Regions from separate parts of the Homo sapiens genome. Here regions 1, 2 and 3 are each linked to region 4. The links are contacts of gene promoters, found by promoter capture Hi-C in blood cells and fetal thymus (Javierre and others, 2016). All regions are on one chromosome and are shown on one strand. The core of a region is centred on a gene start or on the middle of the fragment in contact, and the rest is flanking DNA. Distances in the headings are between cores, read along the strand shown.

Region 1 (6,287 bases), core at 2,310-4,809, 190 kb after region 4:
TCCTAGCACTTCGGGAGGCTGAGGAGGACGGATCACGAGGATCAAGACCATCATGGCTAACATGGTGAAACCCTGTGTTTACTAAAAATACAAAAAAAAATTAGCTTGGGCGTGGTGGCGGGCGCCTGTAGTCCCAGCTACTCGGGAGGCTGAGGCAGGAGAATGGCGTGAACCCAGGAGGCAGAGGTGGCAGTGAGCCAAGATCCTGCCACTGCACTCCAGCCTGGGTGACAGAGTGAGACTCCATCTCAAAAAAAAAAAAAAAAGTGATAATATTGCCTATTTCATAAAATTCTTGTGAGGATTAAATGGGTTCATATATGAAAGTACCCAGTAAATGTTTACTGTCCTCATTATCATCTGGAGCCTTTGCTGTCCTCATTTCAGTGCTTTTATTTAATGAATTAGGTATGTTTTTAAACTTTGATATTACTTAGAAGTGGACCCAAAGACCTCATTGAGTTTTGAGTCTGTTACCTGTGACTAAACTAAAGTGAAGATGTTTCTGGAGTCCCTGATGAAGAGCCTTATTTGTTTTCTTCTTCCCTACAGGTTGTTTTCTGCATGGACCGTGCCCTAGAATTTGCCCCTGCCTGCCATCGCTTCAAAATCCTCAAGGCAGAATGTTTAGCAATGCTGGGTCGTTATCCAGAAGCACAGTCTGTGGCTAGGTATGCAGTCAGGCTAGCTGGACATTAAAATGCCAGATACCATTGGACTGATGGTGTCCGGCAGCTTCACCACAGGATATGGTCCCCAGAGTAGGCCAGCTAGGGCTGATCAGACCCTCTTGGGACTTAAAGTCAAAGATTAGACCAGCTTTGAAAACCCGTAGGGTATACAGGAGTATAGTAGTATAGCAGGTACTTGAGCTATATATGAAAGAACAGATTGTGTTTTTGTGGTTTTGTTTGTTTGTTTAAGGTAGTCCTTTTCCTTCTACTCCACTGGTTGGCACACTTTCTGCAAAGGGCCAGATTTTAGCCTTTGCAGGCCACAGGGTCTCTGTTGCAACTAACTCAACTCTGCCATTGCAGTGCAAAGGTTGCCCTAGATAATAGATGAACCAATGGGTGTGGCTGTTTGAATAGTGTTTTATTTACAAAAACCAGTGGCAGAAAGGATTTGGCCCTGTGGGCTGTAGTTTGCCAAACCCTGTTCTAGTTTAATAAGGATTGTAAGACACAAGATGTGTATTAAAGATAATTATAGGTGGTTTATTTGGGGAAAGTTTGGGAACAGTTCTTGGGAATCTGTCTACCTTTGGATATTTTGAATGCTAGACACATGGTCAAGGAGGAAAACTGGCCACAAATGGTAGTAATGGTGGGGACATTCTAAAGCACAGCTCAATGTGCCCTTTTCTGACTATTGCAGTGACATTCTACGAATGGATTCCACCAATGCAGATGCTCTGTATGTACGAGGTCTTTGCCTTTATTACGAAGATTGTATTGAGAAGGCAGTTCAGTTTTTCGTACAGGCTCTCAGGATGGCTCCTGACCACGAGAAGGCCTGCATTGCCTGCAGAGTAAGTTCTAGTCACCAGACCTAACTGGGAAAGAGCTTCCTTTTGGGACCTTTAAGATGGCTAGAGTGGAAGGTTTTAGAATCACAAGGAATGTGATAGCTTTTCCTCCTGCTTTGCAAGGATGCTTGGTCTTTATTAGAAATGGTTTCAGGACTACTTGTATTTACCTAAAGGTAGATGTGATCATATAGGGTCGGATGCCTTTAATATCTAAGAGGGTTTTTTTGTTTTGTTTTTCCCCTCAGTGAAGATAGATAGTAATACTTGTCCTGAGAAGTGAAGGCAGACCCAGTAACATAGGTCTCATTGGTATTTTTGGTAACTCTTTTCCTGTCCACTCTGTAGGAAGCTCAAATGAGCAACAGATAGCCCAGATTGGGGGTTGGCGGGGCTCTGTGATGCTGAACTGCTGGAAGCAAAGAACTTGAAAATAGAGTCTGGCCTCTCTGTGCAATGGTCTGAGGCTTTGTGGATATGAACCGATCCTCCCCTTGCTTTTTTCTGTAGAATGCCAAAGCACTCAAAGCAAAGAAAGAAGATGGGAATAAAGCATTTAAGGAAGGAAATTACAAACTAGCATATGAACTGTACACAGAAGCCCTGGGGATAGACCCCAACAATATAAAAACAAATGCTAAACTCTACTGTAATCGGGGTACGGTTAATTCCAAGGTAAGCTCTTGATCTAGATCTTGGGGCCTATAGAAATATTTTTAAGGGACATCAAAGGGTCTTGGGAAATCTGCCTAGTGAGGGTAAGCAAGATGAAAGAGGGAAAGTTGTTATGGTTAATAGTTTGTTAGGAACTCCCTTCCAAGAGGCAAGCTTTTGTCATCTCTATGGAATTTGAGGGCAGTTGGACAATTTGCAAGGATATTCTCACCTGTTCATTAAGGTCCCTTTCCTCCAGTAAGAGAATGGCTAGGGTCTGTGGGATAATCTTAAGCACCTACTGTTGCTTTTTTGTTGTTTTGCTTATGCAAGTGATCATTTATTTTTTAGGAGTGATTTGGAGGAAGAGTATGAGGCAAGCTTGTTTTTCTCCAGTGTAATTGATGGTCACCATGCATGGTTGAAAATGGCCTGAGTGCTTTTGTGGCCCTACCCAACATCAGAAACAAAAAGTAGACTCCTTGCCCTTGCAGAATTCTAGCAGTTAAAAATCAGAGTGATTTCTGATCCCTGCAGGTGACCTCTGGAAAAAAGGAGGGCAGGAACCAGCCTTACTATTTTCATGTTTTCATTGGGCACTAACATGGAATGGTAAAGGTAGTTTATCCTTGAAGACAGATGTGCCTGGCTTGTATCATATACAAGAGAAATCAATTTTGAAGTTGCTGTCCATAGCCCTGGTGACAAAGAACTAGAACTTAATATGACATTTAAGGGGCCAGCATGACTGATCCTCTTAGAGTTTTGAAGCCATGCTCACAGCTTCTGGGCTCCCTCAGTCACCAAAGGTGTGAAGTATGATTGCTCTCTCTCTCCTGAAGCTTAGGAAACTAGATGATGCAATAGAAGACTGCACAAATGCAGTGAAGCTTGATGACACTTACATAAAAGCCTACTTGAGAAGAGCTCAGTGGTAAGTGCCTCTGATGGGTAGGGGGAAGAGGGAGTTGCCGCTGGCCTCAGGGGAATTGCCTTGTGGATGACGAAGCAGACCCAGAGATGTTGTGAGGTCATTTGGTCCTTCCCCCTGCCTCTAGGTGGGATTGTTCCAGCCCTAGACTATCTTTATAGACCTCCAGCGGAGGAGATTGCACAAGCTCCCTCAGTCTCCCATGCCTGTGTCTAACGCCCCTCACGGTCAGTAAGTTTCCTCTGATGCCTGACCCAAATTCCTTTTGTTAAAAAGTTTAAATCCATTTCCTTTGGAGATTTTATTTTGTGTTGTACACTTATGCTCTACCCTGGCACAGTGCTTGACACATAGGTGCTCACTGAATAAATGTTTTGTTGAATGAATGTATGGTGCTTGGAAGAGAAAACAACTCTTGGAGACAGTTGAGAGTTGTACTTCATCCTGTTTGTTCTGGGCGAGGGAAGACAATCTTAGAGTTGGAAGAGATGTAATCCGGCTCAGCCTCCCAGGATAAAGGAACTTCCTTTTGAAACACCCTGGATGGCTACTCTCTGCTTGAGTGTTTTGAGTGGAGGGCACTCTGTGTCTGACAGGGTGATTATGAGCCAGGATGTGCCTACCTCTAATGCTCACATTTGCCCCAGAGTCAGGGTGCTCCCTGGCATGGTTGCTCCTCTTACTCTTAGACCCACCAGCTGGTTTTCTCCAGATAGGAACAGGGCTAGGAGAAATCTTTCTCAGAAATCCATCTCTTCTGATTTCAGATTATTCTCTAGGCGGAGAAAAACTTCCCGTCTTTAAAGTTCTTAGAGAAGATGTATTTATTGTATACTAATCCTCCAGCACCTGCTCCACTCCTTATTATAAAATGTCATATCCAAAGAACAGATGCTGTCACTGATGCCTGATGAGCCAGTAGTTTAAGCTTCCTTGTCTCATCAGTGGTACAGAATATCTCATGGACTACCTCCCACTTAGTTTTCTCAAAATTATCTCACTTAAAATAGGAAAACTGCTGCTGTGTGTGATGCTTTTTTTAAAAGTGAATTTCTAAGTTGATGACTAAGTCTGTCCAACAGAAACATACAGGGAATTATAACTTCTGTGAGACTGACTGTCAGTCATTCCATCTTTGCAAACCACTGGCACACAGAAGCAGAAGCTTTGGAAGACAAAAAAAGCACCCTTTGATTCAGCCAAAGACTGACTTTAACAGACGCAAAATGCTATATACATGAAGGTGTTTGCTGCAATTTTATCTATAATAGCAAAAAAAAAAAAAAAAAAAGGCGGGGGGAGAATCACCTACATGTCCAGTGGGAAGGGGGTGGCTAGATACTTGATACTGTATGAACTTAATGGAATGCTCTGTATATGGAATGCCAGGGGATGGGAAGAGAAGAGAAAAATCGCTTTGTTTTATTTTTTGGGATGGAGTCTCGCTATGTCGCTCGGGATGGAGTCTCGCTATGTCGCTCAGGCTGGAGTGCAGTAGCACCGTACTGGCTCACTGCAACCTCCACCTCCTGAGTTCAAGCGAATTTCCTGCTTCAGCCTCCGAAGTAGCTGAGATTACCGGCGCATGTCACCACACCCAGCAAATTTTTGTATTTTTATTGGAGATGGGGTTTCATCATGTTGGCCAGGCTGTTCTCAAACTCCTGATGACAAGTGATCTGCCTGTCTTGGCCTCCCAAAGTTCTGGAATTACCAGCAGGTGTGAGCCACCGCGCCCGGCCTTTTTTTTTTTTTTTTTTTTTTTTTTTTTTTTAAGCAAGCCCCCAACACCATAGAAAATTCTTGATTTGCTCGGAGGATAATTGGATGAAGGATTATTTTCTTCTTTGTTTATGTGCAAGAAATGAAAATAAGGAATTGCTTTGATCAGACAACTTCTTATCTTTGTGGTAGAAACAGAACTGCCCTTCTTGGAGTGGCTCTGCCTCTGAGATCACTACAGGGGAGACAGCATGCCCTGTTCAGCTGGCTGAATATTTGGCAACAATCTCCTGAAGCAGCTGGAATTGACAAGAAGTACTGGAGATTAGCTCGGGCCAAACCCTTACATCTGGCCTGACTACTGCTGCAGTCTGCCTCAACTTACCCCTAAAGCTGGGGAGATGCCACCCACCCACATCTTTGCTACACATGCCATCATGAGCTAGAGTTCACCCTTTCTCCTTAAAGCCCTATTTACTTTTCTACTTCAACTTTAAAACAAAATTAAAATGTGAGGATATCCCTGAATTTTAAAAAGCATGAAGTAAAAATGCAAATTAGTATAGTTTGTTTAATACATTACATATAGACCTAAAGAAAGTTCATCAGGGTTAATCATTTGTCACATCATTCTATACCCAGGGCTATCAGCTATCAATTTTCCTTTTTTTTTTTTTTTTAATTCAGGATCCAGCTCTGTCACCCAGGCTGGAGTGCAGTATCAAAGTATCATTTCTCTTACTTCAAATTATTACATTTTATTCTGTACATTGATTCTGAACTCCTAATATAATATTTATGTCCTGTATTTGCAGGCCATTGGTTTTTTTAAAGTCATAAATCAAAATGATGCCAGAAAATCAAAGATGCCCAAGATGTTGGGCTTCTCTTTTGCCAGCCACATTGGTAGCACTCTCCTGCCCTGGCCTCCAAGCTGGTGGGGATCTGTGATGTTTGTGAAAATGGGCTTATGCCAGGCGCAGTGGCTCACGCCTATAATCCCAGCACTTTGGGAGGCCGAGGCGGGCAGATCGGTTCAGGTCAGGAGATCGAGACCAGCCTGGCCAACATGGTGAAACCCCATCTCTACTAAAAATACAAAAAATTAGCCAGGTGTGGTGGCACATGCCTGTAATCCCAGCTACTCAGGAGGCTGAGGCAGGAGAATCACTTGAAACCTGGGAGGCGGAGGTTGCAGTGAGCAGAGATCGTGCCATTACACTCCAGCCTGGGCTACAGAGTGAGACTCTGTGTCAAAAAAAAAAAAGAAAGAAAATGGGCTTGTGTGGTAGCAGGTAAGAAATTGAATCTCTGTTGTACAGCAGCTAGCTGTACTGCATGATCACTTCCCATTCCCCAGCTGACAGTGGCTGTCTCTGGAACTCCTACCACAGTCTTCAATTGGTAGGCCAGCCCTGGTGCCAGTGATTTTATCTGGGCATGGAAAATGCC
Region 2 (4,560 bases), core at 332-2,831, 130 kb before region 4:
GCTTGTGTGTGTGTGTTTTGTTCTTTTTTTTTTTTCCATTGTGTCTTGTCAACCCCCCGTTTCCCCTCCTGCTGCCCCCCATTTCCTACAGAACGACCTGCAGCAATACCATTGACCTGCCGATGTCCCCCCGCACTTTAGATTCATTGATGCAGTTTGGAAATAATGGTGAAGGTGCTGAACCCTCAGCAGGAGGGCAGTTTGGTGAGTATTTGGTTGACAGACTTTGTCCCTATAAGGGAAGTTGGTCCCCTTTGTGTGATGCTCTCACATGTACACACCGAGAGCTGGTCACTCGGAATGGTAGGAGATTCTAGAGCTTTGCTTTCCAAAAGAGATGGTATGAATGCCACATGTGTGAGTATAAATCTTCTAGCAGCCACACTGGAAATAGACGAACTTAATTTTTACAATATATTTTATTTAACCCACTAAATCCAACATACTCTCAATTTAACATTTCAGAAAAAGTTGAGGCTGGGTGAGTGGCTCATGCCTGTAATCCCAGCACTTTGGGAGGCCGAGGTGGGTGGATCACTTGAGGTCAGGAGTTCGAGACCAGTCTGACCAAAATCTCTAAAATATAAAAATTAGCTGGGCATGGTGGCGCATACCTGTAATCCCAGCTACTCAAGAAGCTGAGGTGGGAGGATCGCTTGAGCCTGGGAGGTGGAGGTTGCAGTGAGCAGAGATCGTGCCACTGCACTCCAGCCTGGGCGACAGAGTGAGACTCCATCTCAAATAAACAAAACTAAACTAAAAAGAAAAAGTTGAGACCTTTTTTTATTCTTTTTTTTCATACTAAGCCTTTAAAATCCAGTGGGCTTTTGACAGCCACAGCACAGCTCAGTTTGGACAAACCAAATCTCAAATGCTTGGTGGCCACGTGTGTCTCGGGGCTCCTGAATTAAACAGTAGATCAAGGGCAGAAGATCTCAGGACAGCCTTAGAGCTTCTGTAAACATGGAGCTCTGGGAATCAGTTAAGGTGGGAATGAGAAAGGACCCTTCCCGAGGCAGGGTCCTCCAGGGAGGAGGGTAAATCTGGCTTTTCTGACCATCCCTGGGCCTTAAGGGGCAGGAGATTGGATAGCAGTGGTAGCCTGGGCCCTGTCCTCTGAAGGGCTGGGGGCGTGGCCTGCCAGTTGCAGAGGGTGGACAACTGAACTAGTTTTCCCTGTCTGTCCCTCCAGAGTCCCTCACCTTTGACATGGAGTTGACCTCGGAGTGCGCTACCTCCCCCATGTGAGGAGCTGAGAACGGAAGCTGCAGAAAGATACGACTGAGGCGCCTACCTGCATTCTGCCACCCCTCACACAGCCAAACCCCAGATCATCTGAAACTACTAACTTTGTGGTTCCAGATTTTTTTTAATCTCCTACTTCTGCTATCTTTGAGCAATCTGGGCACTTTTAAAAATAGAGAAATGAGTGAATGTGGGTGATCTGCTTTTATCTAAATGCAAATAAGGATGTGTTCTCTGAGACCCATGATCAGGGGATGTGGCGGGGGGTGGCTAGAGGGAGAAAAAGGAAATGTCTTGTGTTGTTTTGTTCCCCTGCCCTCCTTTCTCAGCAGCTTTTTGTTATTGTTGTTGTTGTTCTTAGACAAGTGCCTCCTGGTGCCTGCGGCATCCTTCTGCCTGTTTCTGTAAGCAAATGCCACAGGCCACCTATAGCTACATACTCCTGGCATTGCACTTTTTAACCTTGCTGACATCCAAATAGAAGATAGGACTATCTAAGCCCTAGGTTTCTTTTTAAATTAAGAAATAATAACAATTAAAGGGCAAAAAACACTGTATCAGCATAGCCTTTCTGTATTTAAGAAACTTAAGCAGCCGGGCATGGTGGCTCACGCCTGTAATCCCAGCACTTTGGGAGGCCGAGGCGGATCATAAGGTCAGGAGATCAAGACCATCCTGGCTAACACGGTGAAACCCCGTCTCTACTAAAAGTACAAAAAATTAGCTGGGTGTGGTGGTGGGCGCCTGTAGTCCCAGCTACTCGGGAGGCTGAGGCAGGAGAATCGCTTGAACCTGAGAGGCGGAGGTTGCAGTGAGCCAAAATTGCACCACTGCACACTGCACTCCATCCTGGGCGACAGTCTGAGACTCTGTCTCAAAAAAAAAAAAAAAAAAAAGAAACTTCAGTTAACAGCCTCCTTGGTGCTTTAAGCATTCAGCTTCCTTCAGGCTGGTAATTTATATAATCCCTGAAACGGGCTTCAGGTCAAACCCTTAAGACATCTGAAGCTGCAACCTGGCCTTTGGTGTTGAAATAGGAAGGTTTAAGGAGAATCTAAGCATTTTAGACTTTTTTTTATAAATAGACTTATTTTCCTTTGTAATGTATTGGCCTTTTAGTGAGTAAGGCTGGGCAGAGGGTGCTTACAACCTTGACTCCCTTTCTCCCTGGACTTGATCTGCTGTTTCAGAGGCTAGGTTGTTTCTGTGGGTGCCTTATCAGGGCTGGGATACTTCTGATTCTGGCTTCCTTCCTGCCCCACCCTCCCGACCCCAGTCCCCCTGATCCTGCTAGAGGCATGTCTCCTTGCGTGTCTAAAGGTCCCTCATCCTGTTTGTTTTAGGAATCCTGGTCTCAGGACCTCATGGAAGAAGAGGGGGAGAGAGTTACAGGTTGGACATGATGCACACTATGGGGCCCCAGCGACGTGTCTGGTTGAGCTCAGGGAATATGGTTCTTAGCCAGTTTCTTGGTGATATCCAGTGGCACTTGTAATGGCGTCTTCATTCAGTTCATGCAGGGCAAAGGCTTACTGATAAACTTGAGTCTGCCCTCGTATGAGGGTGTATACCTGGCCTCCCTCTGAGGCTGGTGACTCCTCCCTGCTGGGGCCCCACAGGTGAGGCAGAACAGCTAGAGGGCCTCCCCGCCTGCCCGCCTTGGCTGGCTAGCTCGCCTCTCCTGTGCGTATGGGAACACCTAGCACGTGCTGGATGGGCTGCCTCTGACTCAGAGGCATGGCCGGATTTGGCAACTCAAAACCACCTTGCCTCAGCTGATCAGAGTTTCTGTGGAATTCTGTTTGTTAAATCAAATTAGCTGGTCTCTGAATTAAGGGGGAGACGACCTTCTCTAAGATGAACAGGGTTCGCCCCAGTCCTCCTGCCTGGAGACAGTTGATGTGTCATGCAGAGCTCTTACTTCTCCAGCAACACTCTTCAGTACATAATAAGCTTAACTGATAAACAGAATATTTAGAAAGGTGAGACTTGGGCTTACCATTGGGTTTAAATCATAGGGACCTAGGGCGAGGGTTCAGGGCTTCTCTGGAGCAGATATTGTCAAGTTCATGGCCTTAGGTAGCATGTATCTGGTCTTAACTCTGATTGTAGCAAAAGTTCTGAGAGGAGCTGAGCCCTGTTGTGGCCCATTAAAGAACAGGGTCCTCAGGCCCTGCCCGCTTCCTGTCCACTGCCCCCTCCCCATCCCCAGCCCAGCCGAGGGAATCCCGTGGGTTGCTTACCTACCTATAAGGTGGTTTATAAGCTGCTGTCCTGGCCACTGCATTCAAATTCCAATGTGTACTTCATAGTGTAAAAATTTATATTATTGTGAGGTTTTTTGTCTTTTTTTTTTTTTTTTTTTTTTGGTATATTGCTGTATCTACTTTAACTTCCAGAAATAAACGTTATATAGGAACCGTCTGATAGCATGGCAGCTCTGTTTGGCTGGTGGAGGCTTCCTTTTCCCCTGCATAAGTTCTGAGGGGGCCTCACACACAGGTGGGGCCTGGGATAAGGGCCGGAAAGGGTCTTGAGAGGAGGTGGTTGCCTTAATCCCCCCCGCCAACCCCCTTATGTTAGCCACCAGCCCGGAGGTAAGGGGTGCCTGGAGGAGCAGGAGGTCAATAGTCCAACGGCAGAAAGGTGTCAGAGTGGAGGCCTCCCTCCCCGGCCCCCTCCTACCCCCCAGAGCGGCCTCGTCCTGTCTGGGGTCAGATAAGCCACCTAAGCGGGGTGGGGGGTAGATACTCCCACCGCACCAAGGCCTCCCCTTCCACAGTTGGCTCCTTTATCACTTTCCCTTCAGTTCACCCAGCGGGGACAACACGCAGACACCCGGTGGTGGCTGCAGGGCCCCCGGCAGCCAGCGGTGATAATGCAGGGAAAGGCGCCCCAACCTCAGCTACGCGGGCGCCCACAGGGCTTCTCCCCACCCCTACACGTGCCCCAGCGCCCTGGAGACCGCGCCTGGGAGCTACGAGCGAGCACCTTCCCTCGCAGAGATGGATCAGATTAGCCCCCTGGGGCGGTGGCACCTGCCCGTCCCCTCCCCTCCTCTCTTCTCCCACCCCCGCCTTCCCCCTGCTCTGGGCCCCCTGCACCTCCCTCTTGGGGCCCACGCGCCGCCCCTCTCCCTCGCTTGAGCTCTGAGCTCAGAAGGAACCTGCCCGCAAACCTGGCTCCCAGCCCCGCCCAGGGAGCGCGCGTCCCTGAGCCCAAGGGCCCCAGCGACAGCAGGGACTGGCTGCAGCCGGCAGTGCGGGGGTCCAGCCGGGGCGAGCCGGTCCCGCTTGCTGCACCTCCGCCTCGCAC
Region 3 (6,936 bases), core at 3,567-6,066, 250 kb before region 4:
TTAAGTCATATGATGGATCTGTGGACTACATCTGTGCTGATTGCTCTTTCATACCAATCAGAGGCCCCTGGGATTCATAGGAATACACGTCTCCATGGAAAAATGAGTCACTCCACCAACGCACAGCTGGACTCTCACACTCAGAGCACAATAGAAATGTGGAAATCTAAGTGAAGCACAAGGAATCTGTAACTGAACAAGAGTTTACACTCTTCCTGTTCTGTTAGGTTGTGAAATGGAAACACCGTTTCCTGGGAAAAGGGCCCGATTCCACAAATGAAATGGTTTTGCTTTAATATGCACAGCTGCTAAACACTTACTGCGTTTACTGAAAGTGGCTTGTTTGAAAGGTCTGGTCTTGGTTCCAGCTGGAAAGTTGAAAGGAAGGGGCTCTTCTCTTGTGCAACAAAATGGGTTTAACAGAAACAGTCTCTTTGAACACCAGTTCTGAATTGGTTCAAGTGAGAGAAAGGGAAAAGGGTCATGCACATTATTTGCCACACATTGTGTATCAAACATTTTGATATGTCCCTTTACAGATGTGAACACATTTCATCCTTAAAACAACCTTAGTATTTTTTATTATGGGAAACTTCAGGCGGGGCTTGGTGGCTCACGTCTGTAATCCCAGCACTTTGGGAGGCTGAGGCGGGCAGATCACTTGAGGTAAGGAGTTGGAGACCAGCCTGGCCAACATGGTGAAACCCTGTCTCTAATAAAAATACAAAAATAAGCCAGGCGTGGTGGTGGGTGCCTGTAAACCTAGCTACTCGGGAGGCTGTGGCAGGAGAATCACTTGAACCCAGGTGTCAGAGGTTGCAGTGAGCCGAGATCGTGCCACTGCACTCCAGCCTGGGAGACAGAGCAAGACCCTGTCTCAAAAAATAATACAATACAATACAATACCATACAATACAATACAATACAATACAATACAATACAATACAATACAATACAATACAATACAATACAATACAATACAATGGTGTAGTATTGGCATATAACCTAATGCACATCCTCTCATATACTTTAAATCATCTCTAGCTTACTTAGGCCTAATACGATGCCCACACATCACTTCATTTTTGTGGATTCAACACAGTACTTGGCAAATTCATATTTTGCTTTTTGGAATTTTGTGGAATTTTTTTCCTAATAATTTCTATCCACAGTTGGTTGAATCCATGGGTGTGGAACCTAAGGATACAGAAGGCAGAGACGGGATAATGAATCCCTATGTACATATCACCCAGCTTCAACCATAATCAACAAATAGTCCAGCTTGTTTCATTTATATCCCATCTACTTCCGCCAGAATTATTGTGAATCAAATCTTAGATGTGATATCATATCATCTGTAAATACTTCAGTATATATCTCAAAAATGTACGAATTTTTTAAAAACATAACCACAATGCTGCTATCATACTTAAATTTTTTTTTTTTTTGAGATAGGGTCTCACTCTGTCGCTCAGGCTGGAGTGCAGTGGCACAAGCCCAGCTCATTGCAGCCTCCACCTCCCAGGCTCAAGCCATTCTCCCGCCTCAAAAAAATAAATAAATAAATACAAAGATTAGTGAGTGGGTTGAGTTGTTACTTTGATATAATAGAGTTCCCCACAATTTTCTGCCTAATAGTTTTAGCGGGCATTAATGATCATTAGCTCATTTTTTCACTAGAGGCTACAAAATAGTGACATTTTAATCCATCATTCCTTCTTTATTTATGAGCTGAAATTATTTTATAAATAAGTGCTTTCCTTCACCCAGCCGCTATTTGGTTACACAGAGGTACAATCCAAACAGAAAAGGTAAGATTTTTTTTTTTTTTTGGAACAGAGTTTCACTCTTGTCCACCAGGCTAGAGTGCAATGGAGTGATCACTGCAACCTCTGCCTCCTGGGCCCAAGTGATTCTCCTGCCTCAGTCTCCCGAATAGCTGGGATTACAGGTGTGCACAAGCACGCCCGGCTAATTTTGGTATTTTTAGTAGACACAAGGCTTCACCATGTTGGCCAGGCTGGTCTTAAACTCCTGACCTCAAGTGATCCTCTTGCCTCGGCCTCCCAAAGTGTTAGGATTACAGGCATGAGCCACTTCATCCGGCCAGAAAAGGTAGGATTAATGCTTCATTGATTCTCTTTATTTGCCAATTTGTTTGTTTGTTTGAGACAGAGTCTTGCTCTGTCACCCAGGCTGGGATACAGTGGCGTGATCTCAGCTCACTGCAACCTCTACCTCCCGGGTTCAAGTGATTCTCCTGCCTCAGCCTCCCAAGTAGCTGGGACTACAGGCATGCGCCACCACACCCGGCTAGTTTTTGTATTTTTTGGTAGAGACAGGGTTTCACCATGTTGGCCAGGGTGATCTTGAACTCCTGACCTCAAATGATCCGCCTGCCTTGGCCTCCCAAAGTGCTGGAATTACAGGCGTGAGCCACTGCACCCAGCCAAAATTGTAATATTTTAGACTCCTCCTTCTCCTTCAGTATCTACATGTACTCATTCATCAAGCCCTAATGGTTTTCATGCTATAGTGCTCACCCATCAGTCCTCTCTCTGTGCCCCGTAATGCTCTAGTTCAAATGATCATCTTCCCCTGCTGGGACTATTGCAGTAGTCTCCTGTTAGATCTCCTTTTTTCTAGTCCCAGCACCTTCCAAACTATCATTTACAGTTTTTCAAATCAATTTTCATTCTAAAATGCATTATGAATTGGAAGGAAAAGGTTGGAGACACAGAGACAAACTAGGAAAGTACAGTAACAGCCATCAGCTGGTAACAACAGGATCAGACAGACAGTCACAGAAATGGGAATTACAGGGGAGTGATAATGAAGGAAGGAAGGCAGGATCTGGGATTTCATTTGCTTTAGTAGATGAGAGAAAGAGAGGAGATAAATATAATTCTAAGGTTGGAGTCTCTGGTGTTTGATAGGACGGTCCCACCATCAACAGAAATAAGCCAAGAAGCATTCTAGCTTTTGAGGAAAGATATTTGGTTTAGGCGGGGCATGGTGGCTCACGCCTGTAATCCCAGCACTTTGGAAGGCTGAGGTGGGTGGATTATGAGGTCAGGAGTTCGAGACCAGCCTGACCAACATGGTGAAACCCCGTCTCTACTAAAAATACAAAAATTAGCCAGACGTGGTCATGCGCACCTGTAATCCCAGCTACTCGGGAGGCTTAAGCAGGAGAATTGCTTGAACCCAGGGGGCAGAGGTTGCAGTGAGCCGAGATTGTGCCACTGTATTCCAGCCTGGGTGACAGAGCAAGACTCCGTCTAAAAAAAAAATTAGCCTGTTGTGACCAGTAGTCCAAGCTACTTGGGAGGCTGAGGAAGGAGGATGGCTAGAGACCAGTAGTTTGAGGTTGCAGTGAGCCATGATTGTGCCATTGCACACCAGCTTGGGCAACAGGGAGACTGTCTCTTAAAAAAACAAAAAAATGGAAACAACTCAAACGTCCATCAGCTGATGAATGGATAAACAGCATGGGGCATATTTATACAACGGAATATAGCCATAAAGAGGAATGAAGTATTGATACATGCTACAACATAGATCAACCTTGAAAACATGCTAAGTAAAAGAAGCGAGACACAAAAGGCTACAAATTGTATGATTCCATTCATATGAAGTGTTCAGAACAGGAAAATCTATAGAGACTTAAAACTTACTGGTTGCTAGGGGACAGGGAAGAGAGGAGTGGGGAGTGACAGCTAATGGGTATGAGGTAACAGTGGTGAATTTCACCTGAGCCCTGTGCTCTTGGAAAACATCCAAGGTTAAAGGAATCCCCTATGTTTTTGTTTACTGCCAAGAACCACCCTTCCCCATGTGACTCGCAGATGCCCCCCATTGTTTACCTGTGACAGGAACAGACACAGAACTTCAAATTCTTATTCTCTGCCTCATGAATGACCAGCTAAACTGGTTTTCCCAACACTGATCACGATGAACAAAATGCTCATTAAACAAATTTTGTTGGTTCAGCGTGGTGGCTCACACCTGTAATCTCAGCACTTTGGGAGGCCAAGGTGGGCAGATCACCTGAGGTCAGGAGTTCAAGGCCAGCCTGGCCAACATAGTGAAACCCGTTTCTACAAAAATACAAAAATTAGCCGGGCATGATGGCGTGTGTCTGTAATCCCAGTTACTCAGGAGGCTGAGGTGGGAGAATCACTTGAACCCGGGAGGCGGAGGTTGCAGTGAGCCGAGATCACGCCATTGTACTCCAGCCTGGGTGACAGAGTGAGACTCCGTCTCAAAAATAAATAAATAAATAAAAGGCTGGGCTCGGTGGCTTAAGCCTGTAATCTGAAGTTGGGACTTCGAGACCAGGCTGACCAACATGGAGAAACCCTGTCTCTACTAAAAATACAAAAAATTAGCCGGGCATGGTGGCGCATGCCTGTAATCCCAGCTACTCGGGAGGCTGAGGCAGGAGAATCTCTTAAACCTGGGAGGCGGAGGTTGCTATGAGCCAAGATAGCGCCAGTGCACTCCAACCTGGACAACAAGAGCGAAACTCCGTTTCAAAAAAAAAAAATAACACATTTTGTTTAAGCTTTTCTTCTTCCTCCAGGCCCTGAACTCTGGCCCACCCTCACTGGGCCTGAGCCAGCACACAACCCCTCCTGAGGATAGCCTGACCTCAGGGTAAAACATTCTCTGATCTATTCTCTCATCAGGCCACTTTCCTCCTATTCTCTACACCTGGTTCTTTCTAGCTTTGTTTACTCCTCTCTATAAAAGGAAAAAGGTCTGGCCCTTAAGACATTTGCAGAACTATGGGCCGATCCTTCTCCCTATTGCAATAGACTCCCTCCCCGTATTGCAACAGTCTTTTTCCCCTCCTTGCAAACATTCTTTAGGATAAAGTCTCCCTTTAGTGTTTTTTCTTTGTCGGGGGCTTTCTGGGGGCTGATGAAAGTTGATTCTTGCACAACATTGTGAATATGGTAAAATCTATTCAATTGTATGCTTTAGGTGAATTGTGTGGTATGTGAATTCTACCTCAATAAAGTTATATTGTTTAACCTTTTAAAGCAGTATTAAAAGCTTTTTTTTTTTTTTTGTCCAAATGTACCAGTTTATGCTTGTAATCCCAACACTTTGGGAAGCCGAGCCTAGGAGTTTGAAACCAGCCTGGGAAACAGCGAGATCCCATCTCTACGACAATTTTTGAAAATTAGCTGGGTACAGTGGCTCATGCCTGTAACCCCAGCACTTTGGAAGGCTGAGGCAGGCGGATCGCTTGAGCTCAGGAGTTCAAGACCAGCCTGGAGAACATAGTGAGACCTTGTCTCTACAAAAATACAAAAGTAAGTCAGGTGTGGTGGTGCATGCCTGTAGTCCCAGCTACTTGGGAGGCTGAGGTAGGAGGATTGCTTGAGCCTGGGAGGTTGAGGCTGCAGTAAGCTGTGATCATGCCACTGCACTCCAGCCTGGGCAACAGAACAAGACCCTGTTTCAATATAAATAAATAAATAAAGCTATTTAAAAAAAGAAAATGAAAGGAAGAAAAAATAAGCTAGCAAATGGGACAAGTAAATAAAAATAGTACAGTGTCCAAGGCTAAGAGGGAAGAATCTCAAAGATAAATTGGTCAGCAGTGCTAAATCAGAGTTCAAATAAAATTAGAAAAGGCTGGGTGTGGTGGCTCATGCCTGTAATCCCAACAGTTTGGAGGCAAAGGCAGGAGCTTAGGAGTTTGAGACCAGCCTGGGCAACAACATAAAAAAAGAAGAAAGAAAGAAAGAAAAGGAGAAACAATTGGTGGAATCTAGGGTTTCTTAGTTTTGCTTTTTTTTTTGAGACAGGTTCTCACTCTGTCACCCAGGCTGGAGTGCAGTGGTGCGATCTTGGCTCACTGCAGCCTCTGCCCCCTGGGCTCAAGCAATCCTCCCACCTCAGCCTCCCGAGTTGCTGGGACCACAGGCACACGCTGCCATGCCTGGCTAATTTTTGTATTTTTAGTAGAGACGGGGTTTTACCACTTTGCCCACGCTGGTAAAACTGTATGTATTTTGCTTTATTTTCTGCAGCCCCCTTCTCCTGTTTTTTTGTATTTTCTGTTTGTTAGCCTGAATCACTGCTTCTCTGAAACTAAAATTCCCACTCCACAGCAAAAGTGCTGGTTGTGTCCTTTGGATGGTTTCTAGCACCAAACTATGCATAAATTAGCACTTAATAAATAATTTTGACTGTTTTCTGGTTCAGGGAAGTTACCCTATATATTAATATTTGAAGGCAAAGAAAGGAAGGGATTTTGAGAAAGAGAAACATACAAATATTATAGGCATTTTTCATATATGTATATCAGAGAGACAAGAATAGTGCCTATAAAACTGGCAAAAAAAAAATCACTGTTGTTTGTGGCAGCTGTGAGCCAGCTGCTGAGGGCTAGCCTCCCATGTGAGACGGTTGTCCCAATGTGAAGACACATCATTTGTCCCAGCTGTTTATTATTAACAAAACACACAGTCTCCCTGGGATCTCTCCCAGCACAGATCCAAAACTGAACAGAACATATTACATATTACACCCTTTGCTGGATCTCCCTAAATGTAAACTGATAAGACTTATGGCAGAACCATGATAAGAGGAGATGAGCAGTGCTTGGCTATTCCCCAGTGCCCTTTCACACCGCAAGATACTGGGTTTGGGAGGGGGTCCTTTCCCCCTCCTTTGTACCTACCCTCACCTGTGAACCCTTCCCCACTCTTCCTGAGAGTAGTGACTGCTTTCCCTATGCTGGGGGGGAGCTTTCAGCTGTGTCAGACACTATGCATCTGGCCAGGTGCAGAGTTTCACACCTGTAATGCCAGCACTTTGGGAGGCCGAGGTGAACAGATCACTTGAGCCCAGGAGTTCAAGAGTGGCCTGGGAAATATGGCAAAACCCCATCTCTACAAAAAAAAAAAAAAAAAAAAA
Region 4 (7,104 bases), core at 3,596-6,095:
AGAGGCTAGTGGAAAGGGCAGAAGGGAGAAAAAAAGCTAGGGGGAGGGGGCAGCTAAGGAGCCTTTCCATGAAGGAAGAAGGTCCTGGAGCCTGACAGTCCCCAGGAGCAGCGACAAGAAGCAGGGGAGGGAGAGGACTGCTGCTGGCTGCTCCACCCCCCACACACATAATGTGGGGTCTCGCGTCTGCCTCTCTCCCGCCCCTAATTAGCAGCTGCCTCCCTCCATATTGTCCCAGGCCAGCGCCTCTTTTGTGCTCCCAGATTCCTGGGTGCAAGGTGGCCTCATTAGTGCCCGGAGACCGCCCCATCTCCAGGGAGCAGATAGACAGACAAGGGGGTGATCAGGGGCACAGTGATCCAACCCTGGCCTCTGAACGCCGCAGCGGCCATTCCTTGGGCCCAGCCTGGAGACGGCCCCCCTGCAGCAGGCTAATCTTAGACTTGCCTTTGTCTGGCCTGGGTGTGGACGCAAGTGCCTGTCAATTCCCCGCCACCTCAGAGCACTATAAACCCCAGACCCCTGGGAGTGGGTCACAATTGACAGCCTCAAGGTTCCTGGCTTTTTGAACCACCACAGACATCTCCTTTCCCGGCTACCCCACCCTGAGCGCCAGACACCATGAACCTTCCTTCCACAAAGGTAAAGATCCAGGGATGGAGGGGTGACTCACCATCCCAGAGAAGCAAAAAGAGTGCTTGCTCAGAGGGCTGGAAGAAAGGCCAAAGGTGTCTCCACTCTTGGTCTTTTCCTGGGTGTGCTCTGAGGCAGGAGCACCTGCCTTGGCTCACATTGGGTTGGGTGCTGTTTTGCTAAGAGCCTGTGTTTGCTGAGCTCTATGTGTCAGGTGCTCCGTTTGCACCTGTCATCTCTTGTCATCCTCCCAACAGCCTTGCAGAGTAGAAATTATTTCTAGTATACCCAGTTTACAGGTAAGGGAGCTGTGCCCTCTGAAAGGGCAGGAAACTGGTTCAAAGCAACGGAGTTCAGTCACTCCTGCAAGGGGGCAGGCAGATGAGAGAGCATTCTGGAGTCTTGCTAGTTCCTGATTTCCATGTGTTTCCCTGCTGTGGAGAGGAAGTTGGGGGGACTCAGTAGGGCCCGGGTTTTTCCCAAGTTTACAACTTCTGCTGCAGACAGACACTCCTGTTTTCAGGTGGAGTGGCAAGTGCCCTAGTGGTGGCACAGTGGCCTAAGTCTCCAGAGAAAAGGGGGATTCACTCTGCCCAGGGGGTCTCAAAAGGCTTCCTGGGGGAGATGCTCTGCTGGGTCTTGAAGGAGGAGCAGGGAAAGTAGGCCGATACCAGCAAGGGCGCAAAGCAAGGAGAACTAAGTGACAGCCAGAAAGGAGTGCAGGCTTGGAGGGGGCGCGGAGCCAGAGGGGCAGGTCCTGGGCGTGGGAGCTGGTGGCGGGCGCCGTGGGAAGACCCCCCCAGCGCCCTGTCTCCGTCTCCCTAGGTCTCCTGGGCCGCCGTGACGCTACTGCTGCTGCTGCTGCTGCTGCCGCCCGCGCTGTTGTCGTCCGGGGCGGCTGCACAGCCCCTGCCCGACTGCTGTCGTCAAAAGACTTGCTCTTGCCGCCTCTACGAGCTGCTGCACGGCGCGGGCAATCACGCGGCCGGCATCCTCACGCTGGGCAAGCGGAGGTCCGGGCCCCCGGGCCTCCAGGGTCGGCTGCAGCGCCTCCTGCAGGCCAGCGGCAACCACGCCGCGGGCATCCTGACCATGGGCCGCCGCGCAGGCGCAGAGCCAGCGCCGCGCCCCTGCCTCGGGCGCCGCTGTTCCGCCCCGGCCGCCGCCTCCGTCGCGCCCGGAGGACAGTCCGGGATCTGAGTCGTTCTTCGGGCCCTGTCCTGGCCCAGGCCTCTGCCCTCTGCCCACCCAGCGTCAGCCCCCAGAAAAAAGGCAATAAAGACGAGTCTCCATTCGTGTGACTGGTCTCTGTTCCTGTGCGGTCGCGTCCTGCCCATCCGGGGTGGCAAAGCGTCTTGCGGAGGACAGCTGGGCCTGGAAGCCCGGCTGTCGGGCACCAGCCTTAGCTTTTGCGTGGTTGAATCGGAAACACTCTTGGTTGGGGAGTTCCCAGTGCAAGGCCCTGGGGCACAGAGAGAACTGCACAGGTGCATGCTTGGATCGGGCCATGCGGGACTCCTACGATGCTCTGCTAGGCATTCTGTAGCGGGGACTTTACCCAGAGACGCGGAAGGGGAAGGAAAGCAAGAAAGGTTGCAGCGGTCGGGCGCGGTGCTCACGCCTGTAATCCCAGCACTTTGGGAGGCCAAAGCAGGAGGATCCCTTGAAGCAAGGAGTTCGAGACGAGCCTAGGCAACATAGTGAGTGAGACATCTCTCCAAAAAGTTTTTTTAATTAGCGGGGTATGGTGGGCGAGAGGATTGCTTGAGCCCAGGAGTTTGAGTTTGAGCCATAATTGGGCCACTGCACTCCAGCCTGGGCAACAGAAGGAGGCACTGTCAAAAAAAAAAAAAAAAGAAAGAAAAAGAAAAAAGAAAAGAAAGAAAGGAAAGAAAGGAAGGAAGGAAGGAAGGAAGGAAGGAAGGAAGGAAGGAAGGAAGGCAGGCAAGCTGCATAGAGCAGCAGAATCCAGCTAGGAAGGGGTGGGAGTCAATCCTGCTGAAAAGGCAGGGAATTTGAACTTCAACAATGAGTCATCCAGAATGGCTGCATCATGGGGTATAGGGTGTGGGGAGTGGAGAGGCTCAGGAAGGGACACAGTTACAGTCAGTGCAGCACAGCTCGCAAAGGCTCTCACAAATCATCGGGCTTTGCACTTTATCTTGTAGGTAACAGAGTCATGGGACATTCTTAAGCAGGGGCAGTACAAGATTTTACTGCAACTCCAGCCAAAGACACCTGTTACTGGTGTTCCCAAAATCCATATGTTGAAGTCCGTACCCGTGGCACTTCAGAATGTGGCTGTATTTGGAAATAAGGTCCTTCCAGATGCAATTAGTTAAGATGAGGTCATACTAGAGTAGGGTGGGCCTCTAATCCACTGTGACTGGCGTCCTTATAAAAAAGGGAATTGGAACACAGAAACACACACAGGGAGAACCCATGTGAACATGAAGGTAGAGATTGGCTCCTACAAGCCAAGGAACACCAAAAATTGCCAGCACCCCCACCCCCAGAAGATAGGGGAGAGGCATGCAACAGATTCTCCCTCATAGCCTTCAGAAGGAACCAACGCTCTTCACCTGACCTTGCTTGGACTTCTAGCATCCAGAACTGTGAGACAATAGGTTTCTGTTGTTTGAGCCACTCACTTTGTGGTACTTTGTTATGGCAGTCCTAGGAAACTAATATAACATCCAAAAGTAGAGACACAGGCTAGGCTCCGTGGCTCATGCCTGTAATCCCAGCACTTTGGGAGGCTGAGGCGGGCGGATCACTTGAGGTCAGGAGTTCAAGACCAGCCTGGCAAACATGGCGAAACCCCATCTCTACTAAAAATACAAAAATTAGCCGGGCATTGTAATGCACGCCTGTGATCCCAGCTACTAAGGAGGCTGAGGCGGGAGAATTGCTTGAACCCAGGAGGCAGAGGTTGCAGTGAGCTGAGGTCATGCCACTGCACTCCAGCCTGGGCAACAGAGCAAGACTCCGTCTCAAAAACAACAAGAACAAGAACAACAAGAACAACAACAACAACAAAAGTAGAGACACAGAAAAATGTGGCACTTCTTAGCAATCTAACATCCCAGATAATACCTAGCTCAGAGGGTGGGGAGAATTTAGCCTGCCCTCCTTGCCCATAGGGTTCCCACTTTCACTGCTTCAGCTGTTTTGTCGTGGGAAGCAGCCACCCTCAGCCACAGAACTCAGCTGCCTCAATTTTCTGCATAGGTAGTGAGAAAGTCCTGTGTCTAGTCTCACTTTGGTCCCTCTTGCTGCTGTACTGGTTCCATCTTGGAGAAGTTAGAGGTCAAAGTTCACATGTGCATCCTTGGAGATTTGCAAGCCATGACTCTGCCCACCTCGAAACTATCTTTTTCAGAGGTAGTTTCTCCCAAACTTGCCTCCAGCCTCTCTTCCACTTGAAGGGCAGCAGAGAGGAGGATTAAGACAGTAGGAAGAGGGAAAACAGGCAGGCAACTGCCCTTCAAGACACTTATTTTGTACCAAAGACATGCATTATGGTATTACATTCTCACGGTAACTGCATCAGGTAAGAATTATCAGCTCCATTTTACAGATGAGGAAAGTGGGCTTGGAGAGGATATCACACGATTGGTGTCTAGAGCTGGGACTCTACCTGGTGGACTCCAAAGCTCTTTTCATTCCACCATGCTGTGTCTCAGTAGGCAGAGTTCGCCAGGGTGTCTTGGGAAAACTGAGGCAGGAGGTAAGAATGGTGCTTTCTAGAGTTGGGGTTTCAAGCCTTCCCATTGTCCATTCTCTACCAGCAAACTAGCCTCTTAACCCTTGCTGTCTCACGCTGGAGCTACTGGCCTGTGGGTGCTGCGAAATATGTCAACTCCAGTAGGCGGCACTGTGAACCAGACACCAGCCCAGCGTGGACGCCGCGCGGGAAAACCCGCGAGGTGGAGCCACAAGGAGCAGCCAGGGAACCACGTGTGGAGGCGTGGCCAGCCTGGAAGAGGGCGGGTCTGTTATTCAAGCCCCGCCCATCATTTCAGGCCTCCCCTCCCGGTGGGCGTGCCCCGAATTCTCTCCCCGAGAGACACGCGTGGGCCGCTCCCCTCTGGGAGGAGGGCTGCCCAGAGGGGTGCGGGTGTCGCTAGCGGCCCCTCCCCGTGTGGGGCCACGTGGCGGGTGCGGGCCGAGCCCGAGGGGAAGAACCTGGCCCGTGGGGAGGTGGGGGGGACCGAAACGGCGCTGAGCCGAGCCGAGAGCTACGGGGTTCGGAGCAGAGGCAGCGGCAGCGGCAGCGGCAGTAAGAGGGAGGGGAGGAGGCAGGAGGGCGCATGGGGCGCCCCGGCCCCTCCGACAGCGCGCCCCCTCCGGCCCGGCCGCGCTGAAAGCTCCCCAGCGCCGCGCCTTGAACCCACGCCCCGGGGCCATGCCGGTCATGAAGGGGTTGCTGGCCCCGCAAAACACCTTCCTGGACACCATCGCCACCCGTTTTGACGGAACGCGTGAGTGGGACGGAGGTCGGGGCTTGAGGTTCGAGCTGGGGGGCAAGTATCCTCGGGGCCGTCTCGGATCTCCTGGACATGGTGAGACCCGAGGCGAGGGGAGAGAATGGAGGTGCGGGTCTAGGAACTCCCAAAGCCGCGGTGCAGGAACAGGGCGGGGAGTGCCCTGCGAGGGGAGGAGGGGAAAGGGCCGAGAGCACGGGGGCCAAGGTTAGGGGGTGTGACTCGAGGCAGAAGAGGCTCTTTGTGCGGCAGAGCGGAGGAGGGTCCTTCGGAGCCGCCCACTCTCGGGCAGAGCTGTGCTGGGGGCGTGTATGGGGGTATCCGAGACACAGAAGTGGGGCAAAGTGGCCGGGCATTCTGGGGTCTACTCACAGACTCCAGCTCCCACTACCTCCAGAAAAAAAGGAGAAAAGATCAGACTTCAGCAGGACCTAGTTTGGATTGAGGTCGCGCGCCCCCAAATCGTGGGGCGTCAGTGTCTAAGGTGGGTGAGGCAGGAGGAGGGGAGCGGTCTGTGCGACGGTGGGAACTCCCAGCTCGCCCAACGTAGCTTGGGTTTCAGGTTCAGCACCTTGGACAGCCACATCACTCCTCCCCCGCCTCTTCTCCCGCCATTCCCTCTTCCCACTCTGGAACCCAGAGATTCCCCGCCCTCACCTCCCCCAACCCCGCCATTCCCTCGGGAACCCTGGCCGGGATCTGGATGGTGGGGGAGCGGTACCCGAGGGCGGAAACTGAGCCGCCGGGCCCTACCCTCTTCCCCACCACCTTGTTTCCATAGCGCCCATCACCGGGGCAACAGGCCCTGGGATGGAAGAAGGAGGCTGTGCCCAGAGCCCAGTGCCTCCCAGGCACCTTCAGTGTCCCCATCAGCCTCCCTGCCCCCAGACAGTCATCCCTCCTAGAGCACCAGGACTGGTTGTGTCACAGGCCCCATCTCTTAGCTGAGTCTCTGTCCCTGGATGGCCCACAGGAGTCCCCCTGGCCTCCCACCCATTGGAGCTGGAGGGAGACAGCTCGGGTTCTGCTGCTGGGGGTTGCTGGAGCTATACGCTCAATGCCCTCTCCCATTAGACTTTGAGCAGTGGGGCAGATCCCCTGAAAGCAGCTACAAGAATGCTAAAAAGTGGACCTTCTCTGGAAGGCAGGGAAGGAAGACAGCACTCATCACTGTCTGCCCCCACACTAAGGAGATCTGTGAGTTTGGATAATCTCTGCCTTTTGGTTTCCTATCAATAAATGGGTGTGGTGTCATCAGAATCTCTGCCCTGCTTACTCTGTAATAGGAAGAAAGCCAAGTGAATGTGGGGAAAAAATTTCACCTTCTCAGAGTAGCACTTACCATGTGCTAGGACTTGTTCTCCCCAAGTTAACTCATGTAACTCTCACAACGACCATGTGAGGAAGGCCTATTATGCCCTACTTTGCAAATAAGGAAAGCTTAGGCACAGAAGAGGTCATCAACTTGCCCAAGGTCACACAGTTAGTAAGTGGCAGTGGAGGGTTGCAGGAGCCCAGGCTCTTACTCACCATGCTATACTGCCTTCTACAGTGACAGCTCACCAGTTGGAAGGCAGGGGGATGGATGGCATGACCTCCTGGGGTCCTTCTCCAACTCCCCGTTAGACCCTGCTTAAGTCCTGTCTCAAGTCCTTGTCTCTTTGCTCCAACTTCTCCAATTCTCAATTCAGAATATCCCAAAGTGGGGTCAGGAGCAACATGGAAACCTGGGAAGCTTCTGGCTCTGTGACTTCTAACCCCAACTTAGAGGAAGTGCTGCCCACCTGGAAGCTAGCTCGCCTCCCAGCCTTGACCTGACCTTGACCTCTTCTTCCCACAGACAGCAACTTCCTGCTGGCCAACGCACAGGGCACACGGGGCTTTCCCATCGTCTACTGCTCCGACGGCTTCTGCGAGCTCACAGGCTACGGTCGCACCGAGGTCATGCAGAAGACCTGCAGCTGCCGTTTCCTCTACGGCCCAG

What was found. Contacts are between HindIII fragments. The CHiCAGO score rates a contact against its expected background, and 5 or more counts as called.
Region 1: a contact is called between a fragment that was not itself captured here and the fragment with the promoter of KCNH4 in region 4, in 2 of 17 cell types (endothelial precursors and monocytes). The highest score is 5.6, in endothelial precursors.
Region 2: a fragment that was not itself captured here is called in contact with the fragment with the promoter of KCNH4 in region 4 in 1 of 17 cell types (activated CD4 T cells); the score reaches 5.7 in activated CD4 T cells.
Region 3: a fragment that was not itself captured here is called in contact with the fragment with the promoter of KCNH4 in region 4 in 1 of 17 cell types (activated CD4 T cells); the score reaches 6.1 in activated CD4 T cells.

What each region holds. Positions count from the first base shown.
Region 1 is chr17:41,984,648-41,990,934 of GRCh38, reverse strand. It overlaps DNAJC7 (DnaJ heat shock protein family (Hsp40) member C7), which reads left to right. Exons shown (of 14, transcript NM_003315.4): 6 at 553-671; 7 at 1,378-1,531; 8 at 2,039-2,203; 9 at 3,025-3,116. Among named protein-coding and RNA genes, the nearest start is that of CNP, 21 kb to the right of the region's middle. RefSeq lists enhancers at 1,990-2,490, 2,491-2,991. The HindIII fragment of the contact is 969 bases long and covers 3,075-4,043 here.
Region 2 is chr17:42,312,433-42,316,992 of GRCh38, reverse strand. STAT3 (signal transducer and activator of transcription 3) reads left to right here. Exons shown (of 24, transcript NM_139276.3): 23 at 92-204; 24 at 1,193-3,669. The coding sequence ends at 1,248. Among named protein-coding and RNA genes, the nearest start is that of STAT5A, 26 kb to the right of the region's middle. RefSeq lists silencers at 4,211-4,370, 4,491-4,560. The HindIII fragment of the contact is 3,238 bases long and covers 1-3,200 here.
Region 3 is chr17:42,429,777-42,436,712 of GRCh38, reverse strand. LOC102725238 (a long non-coding RNA gene) reads right to left here. Exons shown (of 4, transcript XR_007065758.1): 3 at 321-447. Among named protein-coding and RNA genes, the nearest start is that of CAVIN1, 10 kb to the right of the region's middle. The HindIII fragment of the contact is 494 bases long and covers 4,570-5,063 here.
Region 4 is chr17:42,178,883-42,185,986 of GRCh38, reverse strand. KCNH4 (potassium voltage-gated channel subfamily H member 4) reads left to right here and starts at 4,845. Exons shown (of 17, transcript NM_012285.3): 1 at 4,845-5,117; 2 at 6,961-7,104. The coding sequence starts at 5,042. HCRT (hypocretin neuropeptide precursor) reads left to right here and starts at 535. Exons shown (of 2, transcript NM_001524.1): 1 at 535-642; 2 at 1,459-1,927. The coding sequence starts at 622. The coding sequence ends at 1,833. RefSeq lists enhancers at 959-1,760, 2,262-2,321, 5,885-6,452, 7,103-7,104 and silencers at 1,612-1,831, 4,414-4,689, 4,696-4,935. The HindIII fragment of the contact is 8,013 bases long and covers 1-6,562 here.